Linked DNA regions of Homo sapiens: all the other regions are linked to region 1. The links are contacts of gene promoters, found by promoter capture Hi-C in blood cells and fetal thymus (Javierre and others, 2016). All regions are on one chromosome and are shown on one strand. Each heading gives the region's core, a stretch centred on a gene start or on the middle of the fragment in contact. The rest is flanking DNA. Distances are from core to core; before and after follow the strand shown. Region 1 holds the start of LEPROTL1 (leptin receptor overlapping transcript like 1). Region 2 has its middle 72 kb from the start of LINC02948. Region 3 holds the start of LOC107986883 (a long non-coding RNA gene). Region 4 holds the start of LOC107986935 (a long non-coding RNA gene). Region 5 has its middle 9.5 kb from the start of LINC02948.

The links. Contacts are between HindIII fragments. The CHiCAGO score rates a contact against its expected background, and 5 or more counts as called.
Region 2: a fragment that was not itself captured here is called in contact with the fragment with the promoter of LEPROTL1 in region 1 in 4 of 17 cell types (total CD4 T cells, non-activated CD4 T cells, activated CD4 T cells and 1 more); the score reaches 9.7 in total CD4 T cells.
Region 3: a contact is called between a fragment that was not itself captured here and the fragment with the promoter of LEPROTL1 in region 1, in 1 of 17 cell types (activated CD4 T cells). The highest score is 5.0, in activated CD4 T cells.
Region 4: a contact is called between a fragment that was not itself captured here and the fragment with the promoter of LEPROTL1 in region 1, in 1 of 17 cell types (activated CD4 T cells). The highest score is 5.1, in activated CD4 T cells.
Region 5: a fragment that was not itself captured here is called in contact with the fragment with the promoter of LEPROTL1 in region 1 in 2 of 17 cell types (total CD4 T cells and total CD8 T cells); the score reaches 8.9 in total CD4 T cells.

The regions. Positions count from the first base shown.
Region 1 is chr8:30,094,059-30,096,793 of GRCh38, reverse strand. LEPROTL1 (leptin receptor overlapping transcript like 1) reads right to left here and starts at 1,386. Exons shown (of 4, transcript NM_015344.3): 1 at 1,266-1,386. The coding sequence starts at 1,281. RefSeq lists a silencer at 1,079-1,538. The HindIII fragment of the contact is 3,733 bases long and covers 1-2,735 here.
Region 2 is chr8:29,488,469-29,491,203 of GRCh38, reverse strand. No RefSeq gene overlaps it. Among named protein-coding and RNA genes, the nearest start is that of LINC02948, 72 kb to the left of the region's middle. RefSeq lists enhancers at 180-685, 941-1,000. The HindIII fragment of the contact is 9,682 bases long and covers 1-2,735 here.
Region 3 is chr8:29,511,879-29,514,613 of GRCh38, reverse strand. LOC107986883 (a long non-coding RNA gene) reads left to right here and starts at 769. Exons shown (of 2, transcript XR_001745702.1): 1 at 769-853; 2 at 2,692-2,735. The HindIII fragment of the contact is 4,538 bases long and covers 1-2,735 here.
Region 4 is chr8:29,529,124-29,531,858 of GRCh38, reverse strand. It overlaps LOC107986935 (a long non-coding RNA gene), which reads left to right and starts at 1,515. Exons shown (of 2, transcript XR_001745860.2): 1 at 1,515-1,814; 2 at 1,947-2,560. It overlaps LOC105379350 (a long non-coding RNA gene), which reads right to left and starts at 2,243. Exons shown (of 3, transcript XR_001745859.2): 1 at 1,977-2,243. RefSeq lists enhancers at 1,955-2,204, 1,652-2,593, 1,612-2,735. The HindIII fragment of the contact is 3,667 bases long and covers 1-2,735 here.
Region 5 is chr8:29,551,403-29,554,137 of GRCh38, reverse strand. No RefSeq gene overlaps it. Among named protein-coding and RNA genes, the nearest start is that of LINC02948, 9.5 kb to the left of the region's middle. The HindIII fragment of the contact is 4,053 bases long and covers 1-2,735 here.

The DNA.
Region 1 (2,735 bases), core at 137-2,636:
GGCACCTTCATCAGTTTAATGCAGTATTTCCCTAGGTCTGGAGAAGTAAATTACAAAGCTATTTTCTTAAGAGACCCCCGCATTATTGACACTGAAGAAACAGGGAAGAACAGGGAAACGGGCAACATCCTAAAAACCACAGCAATTCACAATAACTGCCTTTCACATAAGGGTTTAGAGTCTATCATAGTTCAAAAGGAGATTACAAAGTATCCCAGTTGCTTAAATGACAAGGTTTTATATGGGAAATGAAATGTTTTCAGACATTGAAAATAAACAAGAAACAGTAAGACTGTGACCCTGAAAAAAAACTCGATTAAGTTTTCCTTAGAGAAGAAAAAATACAAAGAAAACCACTGCTCCCAAAGTTACCTGCTTCCTGCCTGACTGCCCTTCTACAGAGCGGCAGGTCAAGAAATCAATGTAATTAGTTAAGCAGTAGCTGAAAACTTTGCTTCTCATCACACTGACAACAAAACTACCTAACAGGTGGAACAAATGCAACATTCCTTTTTTTAAAAGAAAATACATGAATAAGCCAGTAGTTTTTCATTAAGTTGTACCAGTATTTTATCTTCTTAAAAAAAAAAAAGGAAAAAAAGAAAAATTTTGAAATTTGAAAAAGCCTCAGGGTGCAACTGCGGAGAGGGAAGAGAGCCAGGAGCACTTTGGGGTCGCCTACAGGATCAACTCTAGGGTCCAGACACCGCAGATGAAAATGCACCCGTTTCGGGAGCCTGTAAAGCCTCGGGCGCGGGCGGCCGGGGTGGACGTGGGGTCGAGGTTTCGGGCAGACCCGTGCAGCGCCCGCAGACCGCACTTGTGCCTTTCGGTGGGAAATGACTGGTTTTCCATAGCTGGCATCTCTAGCAGCCTCAGCCTTCTCAATCCCACGCTCTGCCTGCCTCTCTCTCGGATGCAAACTCCTGCAAAACGTGTGTGGCCGTCCAAGTCGCGACGGGACTCCTCACTGACCGCCAACCACTTCATATTTTGTCCGGGGGGCGATGGGTGGGAGAGAGGCTGCCGAAATCGGCAGAAAGTGGGGGCTGCGGGGCGAAGCCGGGGTCGCAACCGTCCGTTGCCCGAGGGCGCCGCGCCCACCTCCGGGCCAAGCGCAGGGCCGGGGCGGGGGTCGCTTCCCCGGCGCAGGGACCCCACGCGCGCGCGCGAGCCCGGAGGGGAAGTGCGGGGGCCGCGTGGGACCCCCGGCCCATCTTCCCCCGCCGGCCCCAGCCCTCCCGCGTCCTGCAACCCAGGCCCACCTTTGATGCCTGCCATGGCGGTGACGTCGCTCCTGGCTCCACGACCCGAGGCGGCGGCGGCAGCAGCGGCAGCCGGGAGACCCAAGACGCGCTACGGCGGCCAGACAACACCCGGAAGTGCGCGACGCAGCACTTCCGCCGGCGACTCGGGCTCGCGCGGGGGCGCGGGGGACGCGCCGGGCTGGGCTGTGGGGTCGACCCCCTGCCTCTCTTCTCCGCGGGTGTGCAGATCGCCGCCGGCCGAGGCTTGCCGCCGCCGCCCCGACTGGGGGAATGAGCAGGCGCCAGGTCTTGAATTCCTGTCAGGGCCGGTCTGGGGGCTCCCTGCTGAAGCCCCTGTCCCTGATCCCGCAACCTCCCGCGTGCGTTGGGAAGGGGTCGCGGGTAGCGGCCGTCCTTTGGATGCACGTGTGATGGCTTTTGGCTTAATTTCACATTGTTTTGTTTGTTTTTTGAGACAGGGTCTCTTTCGCCCAGGCTGGAGTGTGATCACGGCTACTGCAGCCTCGATCTCCAGGGCTCAAGTGATTCTCTCACGTCGGCCTCGCAGTAACTGGGACCACAGACATGAGCCACCATGCCTGGCTTTTTTTTGTTTTGTTTTGTTTTGTTTTTTGTAGAGACAGGGCGGGGTGTGAGACTCTCATCTTGTTGCCCAAGCTGGTCTCCTGAGCTCAAGGATCTGCCCTCCTCGGCCTCCCAAAGCGCTGGGATTACAGCTTGATACCCTACCTTGTTTTAACCTGATTGACTCGCTCTTAGCTGAGAGAGCGGGACAGACTCCATTTTGGTTTCTTCGCTTGCAGCACCTTGTCCCCCTCCCTTAAGGACATAACTGGTGCAGACTGACACCAAGCACATCCAGGAATGTGCTTACTGATAAGATACTGAGGCAAGCTGTACCAGCAGCTCCTGGGAACGCGCTCGGTTGATGGTACCCAAAGCCCCTGCGTTTATCTCTTTGTGATAATTTAAGCCCCATGCACCTGGAACTGTTTATTTTCCTGTAACTGTTTCTATAACCATTTATCTTTTAACTCTTTGCCTGTTCTGCTTCTGTAAAAATTGCTTCAGCTAGACTACCCCTTCCCTATTTAGACCAAGGTATAAAAAGAAATCTAGCCCCTTCTTCAGGGCCGAGAGAATTTTGAGCTGTAGTCGTCTCTCGGTCGCCGGCAATAAAGGACTCCTGAATTAGTCTCAAAGTGTGGTGTTTCTCTATAACTCGCTCGGTTACGACAACAGGTGTGAGCCACTGCGCACATTATTTTACTGCGCCTTTTCCTCTCTCCCTCCATCCCTCCATCCCCAGTCCTATAATTAAGGTTAGTTGGGTGGTCTGCACTTGGCTCCTTGGTTTCCTATACAGGACTAGGGTTCTGGTGAGGACCCACCTCCAGAGATAGGAGCAGCAGGGCTCAGTAAAGGGTGGATTTAATAGAAATCCAGTCCCTTGGGTGGCTGTCTTTT
Region 2 (2,735 bases), core at 78-2,577, 610 kb after region 1:
AACCCTAACTTATAGCTGGTCACTCAGCATCCTGAGTCCCTGGGAGTACAGGCCTGGACTCCTGATTGGTGTCTGAAGTGGGGGGTGCAGTCTTGTGAGACTGAGCCCTGAACTCATGGGATCTGATGCTAACTCCAGGTAGATAGTATCAGAATTTAATGAAATTGTAGGACTCCTAGCTGGTATTCAGAAAATTGGAGACTTGCTTGGGGTGGAAAAAAAAAAAAAACCAACCCACACATCTATTAGAAGTGTTGTGTGAGGGTAAAGAGCAACTGTGTTGTTCTCTAGGCAGAGAATTCCTGGAGACAAAAACGAATTCCTGGAGGGAAGGATAAGCACAGTTGAAGAGTGAGAGGACTTGCTGGTGTTTAACTTGACGGCCCCATTCGTACTGATAAGAACAATGTCAGCACTGTTATTCATATTTGCTGTGATGGAGGGGCCAGATCAAGTGCTGAGGCTGACAAGAGGAAGCCAGCTGAGCTTCTGTGCAGAACTGCAGAGGCCCTGCTGTGGTTGGAGACCACAGATTTGCAGTCACACCCACCTGCCTTTCCTCCAACAGGGCTGCTGTTAGAAGGAATTGTTGCAAGGTCCAGCATTTGCACCCCCAAACCGCCACACAAGTACAGGCTGGTTAATGTGTTATTTTAGCAGGAGCTCGTGAGAGACAGACCTCAGAGTGTCTGCTAAGATAAATGAGTGGTCTAGTCACAATGGTGCACAGAAGTTCATGCTTCCTCACACCCACTCTGTACTGAACACATAAAAATGAGAGATAGAATATCAGAAGAGGAACCCACTAAGACACAGGTGGTCTCAGAAACAAGCTAAAGATCTCCAAAAGCCAGATGCAGATCCAAACCAAAGCAGTGTGTGGAACTGAAGCCTTCAGCCTGCAGGGTTCTGGGGCCAGAATCAGGCTGCTGAGAGGTCAGCTGCTTGAATAACAGGGACTCAACCTGTTCCTGCTTGAGGCTGAGAGGGAATCAGGCCTGACGCCACTCAAGAGGCAGCTGAAAAAAATGGCACCTGCCCAATGCCTGGGACTGTTTTAGGGAAAACAGAGGGAAAGATTCAGCCTCAGTTCCAGGACCTGTGTCCGCCACCTGCTGACCGGGACATTGGACCTGCCACATCCCCAAATCCCAGGGTGTAGAGAAAAGTCCCACCCAAATGACTATAGATGGGGTCCTGGTCCTAAGTTGAGGCCACTCAATCTTGCTGAACAGAGATGAAGACAGTAGCAGATGGGAGGCCATGGCATGTTTGAGCAATAGCAAGGGGGCCAGAGTGGGGAAGGCAGAGAAAATTCAGGGCAGTGTTAGGAGAGGAGGTGGAGGAGGAGCTGAGGATACATCATGCTGGCCCCTGAAGACAGCAGTGCTTGGGATTGGGATCCCAATGCAAAGAACAGCAGAATTTTTTTTTTAAGGAGGAAAGCACATCTGGACTAGAGAACTGTGAAGTGAATGCAATGGTTTGAAGTTGTTTTCTTTGGGCCCTCCAAGTTGAAATTTAATTCACAATGTTGCAGGTGGGGTCTGGTGGGAGGTATTTGGATTGTGGGGGTAGATTCTTCATGAATGGCTTGGTTCCATTCTCGCTGGAGGGAGCAAGTGAATTCTCACCCTTAGTTTCCATGAAAACTAAACATGGTGGTTGAACAGAGCCTGGCAACTCTTCCTTCCATTCTCTTGCTTCCTCTCTGATCTTGTGATCTTTGCACACTAGCTACTCTTCACCCTCTGCCATGAATGGAAGCAACCTGAGGCCCTCATCAGACATAGATCCTGGCGCCATGCTTCTTGTACAGCCTGCAGAACCGTGAGCCAAATAAACCTCTTTTCTTTATAAATTGTCAAGCCTAGGATATTCCTTTAGAGCAACACAAATGGACTAAGACTGTTAATATAGGAAAACTATTAAGCCAGTTTATCCAGGAATCCATTTTGAAAATGGACAATGGAGAAAAAATTTCTACTAAATATTAAAACATAAAGCCACAGTAAACAAAATAATGTCATATTAAAACATTATTAGGCCAGGCACGTTGGCTCACGCCTGTAATTCCAGCTCGTTGAGAGGCTGAAGTGGGTGGATCACCTGAGGTCAGGAGTTTCAGACCAGCCTGGCCAACCTGGTGAAACCCCATCTCTACTAAACATACAAAAATTAGTCCAGTGTGGTGGCAGTTGCCTGTAATCCCAGCTACTCGGGAGGCTGAGGCAGGAGAATTGCTTGAACCCAGGAAGCAGTGGTTGCAGTGAGCCAAGATTATGCCATTGCACTCTAGCCTGGATGACAAGAGTGAGACTCCATCTCAAAAAAACACAAAAAACAAAAAATATTATTAAGCAGACAGTTCAAGGTAACAGGCCTAAAATTCCAGAAATAGATGTAAATGTATTTAGTATAGGACAAAGTGGCATTTCAAATCTGGGGTAAAAATATATATTTGCAATACCCCAAACAATCACTGGTATAGTATTAAAAGCAAATCTGATTATGTCACACTTTTCTTAAAGTGGTTTACAATTGCTTTTGGGGTAAAACCCAAAGTTCTTGGCCTATAATATGAGGCTTCCCATCATCAAGAGCCTAACTACATTTATAACTTCTTCTCCTATACATTATCTAGCCACGAAAAGTTATAAACCACACAATACAAGACCTTCAATAAAACTATGCACATATTTTTTTCTTGATAAAACACTTCTGTACCGCTTAAG
Region 3 (2,735 bases), core at 144-2,643, 580 kb after region 1:
CTGTCCTCCCATCCTCCCACCATCTGTGGTCTCCAGTGTCTATTATTCCACTCTGTATGTCCATGAGTAACCATTGTTTAGCTCAGCTCCCACTTGTAAGTGAGAACATGCAGTACTTGAAAGGCCAGAGCTTTAAAACCAAATGCACAGAGAGAAGAATGAAAGTGTTTCCCATGGGCCTTAGAATGTCAGGAAGAACTGTCCACCATGCACGCTGTCTTCATGGATGGTAGTCTGAGGACAGTATGCCAGCACCAGGATCTCCTACAAGAGCTGCATCCGCCTGCTACAAGGTCCAACTTCTGGGATTCACCAGGTTAGTTCAGAAGAGCTTTTGTTTTTTGCTTTTGTTTTGAGAGGGAGTCTCGCTCTGTTGCCTCGGCTGGAGTACAGTGGCATGATCTCGGCTCCTGGGTTCAAGCGATTCTCCTGCCTCAGCTTCCCAAGTAGCTGGGACTACAGGTATGCACCACCACACCCAGCTCATTTTTGTATTTTTAGTAGAGATGGGTTTTCACTCTGTGTTGGCCAGGCTGGTCTCAAACTCTTGACCTCAGGTGATCCACCTGCCTTGGCCTCCCAAAGTGCTGGGATTACAGGCAAGAGCCACTGCGCCCAGCCCAGAAGAGCTTTGGATGTCTTCCAATAGCGTTGTTTTAAGAGTTTGGCAGATACATTTCAGGGTCACAGAGAGACATCACAATAGCCTCTAGTAAGCAGAATAGGGGTGTCAGCACAGAGGGTCATGTAACCTGAACAGATGAGGCTCTGGAAGGAAGCAGGCTGTGCATTCCCTGACAGCCCTTTCCCTGAGGGGATGAAGCAGAAAGGTGAAGGAAACATCCCATGGAAAGTAAGACTTAATGAGCCTTTCTGTGAAGGGCGGGGAAGAATGAGCCTGACAACACTGAGGCTGGGAGAGAGGACAGCCCATGAGAAGTGAGGTCCATTCCAGGCAGCAGAAGTTCAGTGTGACCAAAGTACAGAATTATAGAGTGGGAAGCCCCAGGGGTTAGAGATGAGGCTGTGAGGCAGGCCCTGCAAAGCATGTTGGGAAGTTTAGACTTCACTCGAGATGCCATGGGGTACAGCTGCAGGGTAAAGCCGGTGAGTGATAAGAACAAATATGCAATCCAGAAGATTATGCAAGCCAAGAAATGGACTAAAAGAGTGAGTCACCAGTAAGAGGAGATGAGCTAGGAGGCCAGACAGGAGAAAATGGTAGCCAGGGTGAGAATAAGAGAAGAAAGTGAATAGAAGAAACAAAGGATCTCATAATGCTCAGAGGCACTGTCAGCAAGACCCGAGGGTTCATTTGTTTGATGGAGGCAGGAAAGGTGAAAGACAAAGAGAGAAGAGAGAGTAAACACTTCATGATGATTCCAGCACTATTTATTGGGAGCAGAGAGATACTGGGACCATTTTGGACTTCTGAGTTTGGGTTCCTGGGACATCCAAGCAGAGGTGTCCAGTAGGCAAGTGACTAGCAAGCCTGGAGCTCATTCAGGACACTTCCCTTCTCCCCATCAAGTTAATTTTGCTCTTCTGTCACCTCTTTATATTTCCCTCCCGGTGACATATAACCATCACCAGAAAATTCTCTAGGGAAAGCTAATGCCATAGGCAAATGCCCAGTGGTATGCTGGTAAATGTTGACAATTGCTTATTCCCATCCCACCGTCCCTCAAAAAGCCCTGATTTGCAGCATTTGCCAGTTTCCATGGTGTCAATATTGTCTGTATGGCCAGGTTCAAGACACCAATGTGACATCACTGCATGTGGAATTGGGAAGAGATGTGTAGAACCAGAGTTCACAAGCCTGAGTGAACCAGTTCCACAAACCAAGGCACACACCCATCAAACCCAAAATAAATAACACCCCAAGGCAGAGTGCAAGACACACTGACCCATCAGGCCAATCCAAGTGACCTCTGCTCTCGAAGACCTGTGTCGTACAAAAGTCCTAGAAAAAAATAATTCTATGGGTGCCTGGGAATATCATAGACCTTAAGTGAAATTGAGCTGAACCCTAGTTTGATCCCTGTTCTCTAAAGGAAGGATCAGCACTTTACAACCTCAAAGTCAAATTTGGCCAGCAGCCTGACTTTAAAGTCAGCCTGCTAAGAATAATTTTTACATTTTTTAACTAATTTTTTTTTTTAGACACAGAGATCTCACTGTGTCATGCAGGCTAGAATGCAGTGGGGCGATAATAGCTCACTGCAGCCTCAAACTTGTAGGCTCAAGCAATCCTCCCACCTCAGCCTCTCAAGTAACTGGGACATATAGGTGTATGCCACCATGCCTGCTATTTTTTATTTTTATTTTTTTATTAAGAGACAAGATCATGCTATATGGCCCAGACTGGTCTTGGACTCCTGGCCTCACCTGATCCTCCTGCTTCGGCTTCCCAAAGTGCTGGGATTACAGGCATGAGCCACTGTGCCCAGACAGTTTTTACATTTTAAAATGGTGGCATTTTTAAATAGTTCTGTAAGTACCTATATAATATCCTTGATTTTGCCTGTTAGCACACAACCCCCAAAGCCTAAAATATTTACCACCTGGCCCTTTAAGAAAAAGTGTGGTGACTACTGTTTTAAAGAGCCCTGAAGACAAAGCCAGATCTGCTTCCTAATGCCTCCTGGGCACCACCAAAGCAAGTACTTTTTTTTTCCTCTCCTCTCCCAGGCCATCTCCAAGCTCCTCAGATTGGGAAAACACATATCGAAATC
Region 4 (2,735 bases), core at 132-2,631, 560 kb after region 1:
GGAGAATGGCTTGAACCTGAGACGTGGAGGTTGCAGTCAGTTGAAATTGTGCCACTGCATTCCAGACTGGGTGACAGAGCAAAATGTCATCTCAAAAAAAAAAAAAAAAAATTAGTGGGGACCAGAGATAGGGGATGGCAGAAGGCTCAGGGCTCCACAAGGGGACCCCATCCCACAAACACCCCAAACCTAGTAAGTTCTACTTAAATTCAGGATGTTTGGCATGAGCAAGTCCCTAATGAAAATAAAAAGTGGCTTTCAGCACCCCGAGACCCATGTTGCCCAACTGAACTGAGGTCTGTGCCTCCAGGGCAGTGAAGCCAAACATTCAAACTGAGGTTTTGTAGTGAGAGAAAGGAGGGTGTTTATTTTCAGGGCACCCAGCAAGGAGAATCAGGCAGCTCACCTGACCTTCCCAGTGGCTTGCAAGCAAGGGTTTCTAAAGGCAGGCAGGCAGAGGTTACACACAAAGTCATAAGTCAATACATGGAGGCTACATATTGGTTTGACCTTAACACACAGGATATCTTGAAGCAGGGGCTTACAGGTCACGGGGTAGGGGATTCAACAATTTTCTGATTTGCAGTTGGTTAAGGAAGGGAAGCTCTATTTAAAAATTGAGAGTCAGCATTAAAGAACGTTAGGTCTGGCCCATGGGCGTGACTTCCTTCAGGTCCTTCAAGAAAAAATGCAGAACAAGAAATAGCAGTCAGAGTTCAGTCCTCAGTTTCCCCTTTTCTGAGGTCTGCGTGCCAGCAGATCCATTTGGTAGAGGTCTGGGTTTCTGAAAAATAACTCAGGAACATATGTTAAGATGTATCTTCAGTTTCTATAGGGAACCAAACATCTCATGGCTCTAATTTTATTGCTATTGTTTTATGGTATGATTACCTTTTTACTTATGAAGTTGCTCATTAATTTCTCAGGGATAGCTAGGTGCCTGCAATTTTCCTTAAAGGAACTCAAGATTTTTATTTCCACACTGTGGAGGAGGGGTGGCGTGGCAAGCCCCTAAGAGGGAATCCTCCTCCATCTCACCCAGGCTAAACAGAGACAGAACATTCAGACAGACCAGTGGGGCAGGGGAATCTGCCGCACATCCGCTGACATACACAGATGTATACGGTATTTTCAAGTCTGATGAGAAATGGTTTGGGTATATGTCATTCCCCAGCACAGGCACCAATATCTTCCCAAGTAGTTTCCTTCCACTTTTACTAGTGCCTTCTCCCTGCCGTCCCCTCCAGGGTTCCTGCCGTTTCATGCCAATAATTTAATTACTCTCTTTGCAGAGGCTCAGTTCTACAGACAGCCTAATTTGAGGTTTGCCTTACTCTTAAATATATATATCGTTTCAATGGATTTATGAAAGGGAGAAAAGAGTGCAGAAACAATTAAGGCATCAAAGACAAGCTCATCCAAGCTCCCAAGGACAAAAAAAAAAAAAAAAAAAAAAAAAGAAAAAAATGAAGGACCCAGCCAAGGACCTCCTCTTCCCTCTGTTCGTGCTCTCTGACAGTGACCAACACCAGGCTTTCTGGTCAAACAGCCTGAGCTCCTGGGCGGATTTTCCTGGTGTTTTCAGCAGAAGGAACAGCTGTCCCGGGATTTGCTGGTATTCCCAGGGAGCTGGAACTGAATTGTTGGCCAAACTGCAGATGATTCGTTTAAGGGTCGGAATGAGAGACAGACAGGGCTTTCGGAGATAAATAATGAACTCCACGTGGGTACACCATTGAGCCGTATCCTCAAGGGTTAACAGCTTAAAGGTTATTGGGGTTTCTGGCTACACGCTAAGAGTCCTGCTTCCTAATGTAAGCTCCCCTCCCCCACATTCTTTAAACACATTACTTCCTCAAGCACTTCCTCTGGCTTAGGGGCGGGGTTGGGGGGAGAAGGATGCAAATTTATCTAATCTCTAAAAAAAACCTCTGGTATTTGTGCAGTGAGTTTCAGGCTGAAGAGAAGAGAGAGACCTGCGGCTGTTTCCGCCCACTCGTCCCAGCACAGCCACCAGAGAACGCCGCGTGGTTTGTTGTTTGGACCCTCCCAGAGCCTCTTCCAGATGCTGTTGGAAAAAAAGAAAAGAAAAGCTGGGCAGCCAGTGTCACAGCCCAGATGCCATCTCGGTCTATCCGCGGAAATGCAAGCACGCAGCGCCAAGCCCAACCCAGTAGGTGCCAGGCCCTGGGTGCAGGCTTCAGCTTCACGCCACATCCTCTCTCTCTTTTCAGTCTCTGAGTGACTTGACTCAGCCAGGGAGAGGAGATACCTACACATCCGCATGAAGGCGCGTGGGAGGAAGCCGAGAAATGACGGATGGCGCAGGGCCTACTGCAGCCGCACGTAGACTAGCTCCTTCTTTACGGGCAAAACCCCCTACTTGTCTGCAGTGGGAAAGGAGTCCGTTCAGGGCAAGCTCTGATCGCTGAGCTATGGATGTAGATGGTAACTAGGCGTCTGGAGGTCATTACACACCATATTCGGATGGTGGAAATCATTGCTTATTTCAGGACACTAAAATGGTCCATTTTTATGTATTAAAGTTATTAAGAATGAACTGGCTGGGCCGGAGTTGTGGCTCACTCCTGTAATCCCAAGACTTAAGGAGGCGGAGGCGGAGGCGGAGGCGGGAGGATCGTTTGAGGCCAGGAGTTCAAGACCAGACTGGGCAACATAGTGAGATACACACCCCACCGCCACCACCACCCCAACAAAAAACTTAACAATTAGCT
Region 5 (2,735 bases), core at 124-2,623, 540 kb after region 1:
CACCAGATAAATTCAACCTTTTTGAGAATTTAAAGAATTCCAAAAATTCAACTAGACTAGATTAGTTCCATATCAAGCTATTTGAATTCAATAATCTTCAGAAAAAACGATTACAATTCCAGAGAGAGAAATTGTTTTGAATTCTGGACCAGGGAACAAAGCCAAAAGTTTTGACTTGAGCCCTAAAGAGTTTCCAACTGTATTTCAATTGGAAATAAAAATGTGCTTAATTATGTCCACATCTACTTCTTTTGTAGTTTATATAATAGCTGTTTGGGGTGACTTTCCTTAGGAAACAGAGCTTGTGCCTTGATAGCTAATGAAAGGGATGCTTTAAAAAGTGTACTCACATAGACAATAGTCCCCTCTGACTTTAGACTTTTCTAAAAGTCCCTCTCTGAGTTGAATCCCAAGCTACACGTGTGCATTCTTATGCAAATAAACCAAATATCCAAACCAGGTGCACAAAACAAGAAATTCCAACACAGAAATAAAAACCTTATTTACTCACAGAATTGCAACAGTCTCAGTATTAACTGCTCTAACCTCATGAACAATCAGGTGCTGAGGGAATCAGGTGCTGGGGACTCATGGCTCATGAACTTCAGCCTGAGGAGACCATGATGATCCTAACAAGATGAGATGCCCCAAGGGACCACAATTCTGACCTTTGTCTCCACAGTCCATTGGCCGACCATCTTCTCTAGAAGAGTCCATCTTGCAAAGAAGTGCTCTTTGTTTCTCTGATGTTCTCATTGGAATCAAAAGAAAAGAAAACCTACAGACATGGTCTGTACCATGCTGCCATGGGTGACCCCCTGGTTTGCAGCCAACTGATAATCCAAAACAGTTGAGATGATGAATGTTTTAGAACACTGGTTTAAAGAAAGGCTCTTATTTTGGCCAACATGAGGCTGAAAAAAACCTAGCCAATGCCATTTTGAGACCAAATGGAAGAGCAGCAGGAATTCTGTCTGATTTAGAATGTTGTATGACACAATCTTTCATTACCTCCCACTTTGCTTACATGTTATTTATGCTTACTGAAATAATTTTTAGAGGTGAATATACTAACCATGACTATTGTCATTTATACCACAGAACCTTGAAAAAGCTCAGAAATTAGTGGTACCAGGTTACTTTGGAAGCAGAGTTAATGGTAAATAGAGTTATTTAAAAGGTTGTTGACAAGCTGTTAGGAGTTCACCTCTAATAGAATAAACTCCCACTGGACCTCTCTGCCTCAAATAATAATAATAAACTTTGAACAACTTTTTAAAAAAAATCCGAAAACACTGCAGAGTGAACAAAAGCAGGTAGATTCTGGAGGGGAGTTGCCATTTGGAATAAGGGAATGGCACAAGGTAGCAGAGTAATTTTCCCTTTTCTTCCTATTTCTTGGACCTAGGAAAGGTGGCCAGGTGGCATTGCTAAAACTCCAATAGAAAATCTGCAGTCTTTCTGGTCTGAAGAACCAGAGAAAAGAGTTCAGGGCCACTATAGCCACAACCACAGGGGAAATAAAGGGGTAATATTGGAAAGGAGGGGCCAAAGAAGGGGAGCCACAAATTAAGTGTGTAAATTCTGAGCTACTCCCTAGCTACACATGCACAGGGCAAACTGCACACATATCAGCTAAATATGCAGGAACTACAAGGAGATCTGAACTATCACCAAAAATCAGAGTTTTTAGCTTGAATCAAACCAAAGCAATTGCCTATTAAAATAAATAAATTCAACAACAACTCTCTCCCAGATTGTCCACAACATAACATTCACAACACCCAGAATACAATCCAAAATTATTCCATATATGAAGTAACAGGAAAATGCAACTCATTCTCAGGTGAAAAGATAATTAACAGAAATTGACCTTGAGATGACCCAGATGTTTGAAGTAGCAAACAAGGATTTTATGGGAGCTATTATAACTGTGCACAATGATGCAAAAGATAATATTCTTATAATGAATGAAAAGATAGGGAATCTTAGAAAAGATATAGAAACATAAGAAAAATTCTAGAACTGAGCAGTATAATATCTGAAATAAAATATTTACTAGGTAGAAGAGTAGGAAGGAGATAACAAAGGAAAGTGTCAGTAAACAAGAAAACAAATCAAGAGAAATTATGCAATTTCAAGCATAGAAAGGCAATTAAAACAATAGATCCTTTCCCTTACTCAACTTAACCAGATGACTTTCCCTCCTCCACCCCAGCAGAACACTAAAGGCTTAACATTCTCTAAAGGAGGTAAAACAGAGTCTCTGAACTTAGTGACCAAGGATAGTTGAAGATGGTAGTACAATAATAGAAACAGAAAAATTAAGTAGAAATTGACATACTAAATAGAGACAACACTCACTCCCATGCTTGCTCTTTTTCTCAAAATGTTAGCAGTAGGCTTATGCCCTCCAAGCAAGATATTAAAATATTCTACTTTGAGGAATCTTACCAACCCAGGAGAAAAGACCCAATGATATTGACAGCCAAGGTTATATTCTCCAGCCAAGTAATCCAACCATTTCCTATCTAGGAGAATATATGCCTGGTTGATTGCTTTCCAGGAACAAGATGGAGAAAGAAAACCGGGACTTGCATCATTCAGTGTGCGAACTTCCATAAAATACTTCCGCTTGTTAGCCCTAAACCTCTGTTCCCCTCTGTGCTGTCCCATCTGTGAATATTTATCCCCACCAAGTAGATGAATTGGATATTTAAGGAGCAAGAGTCAGA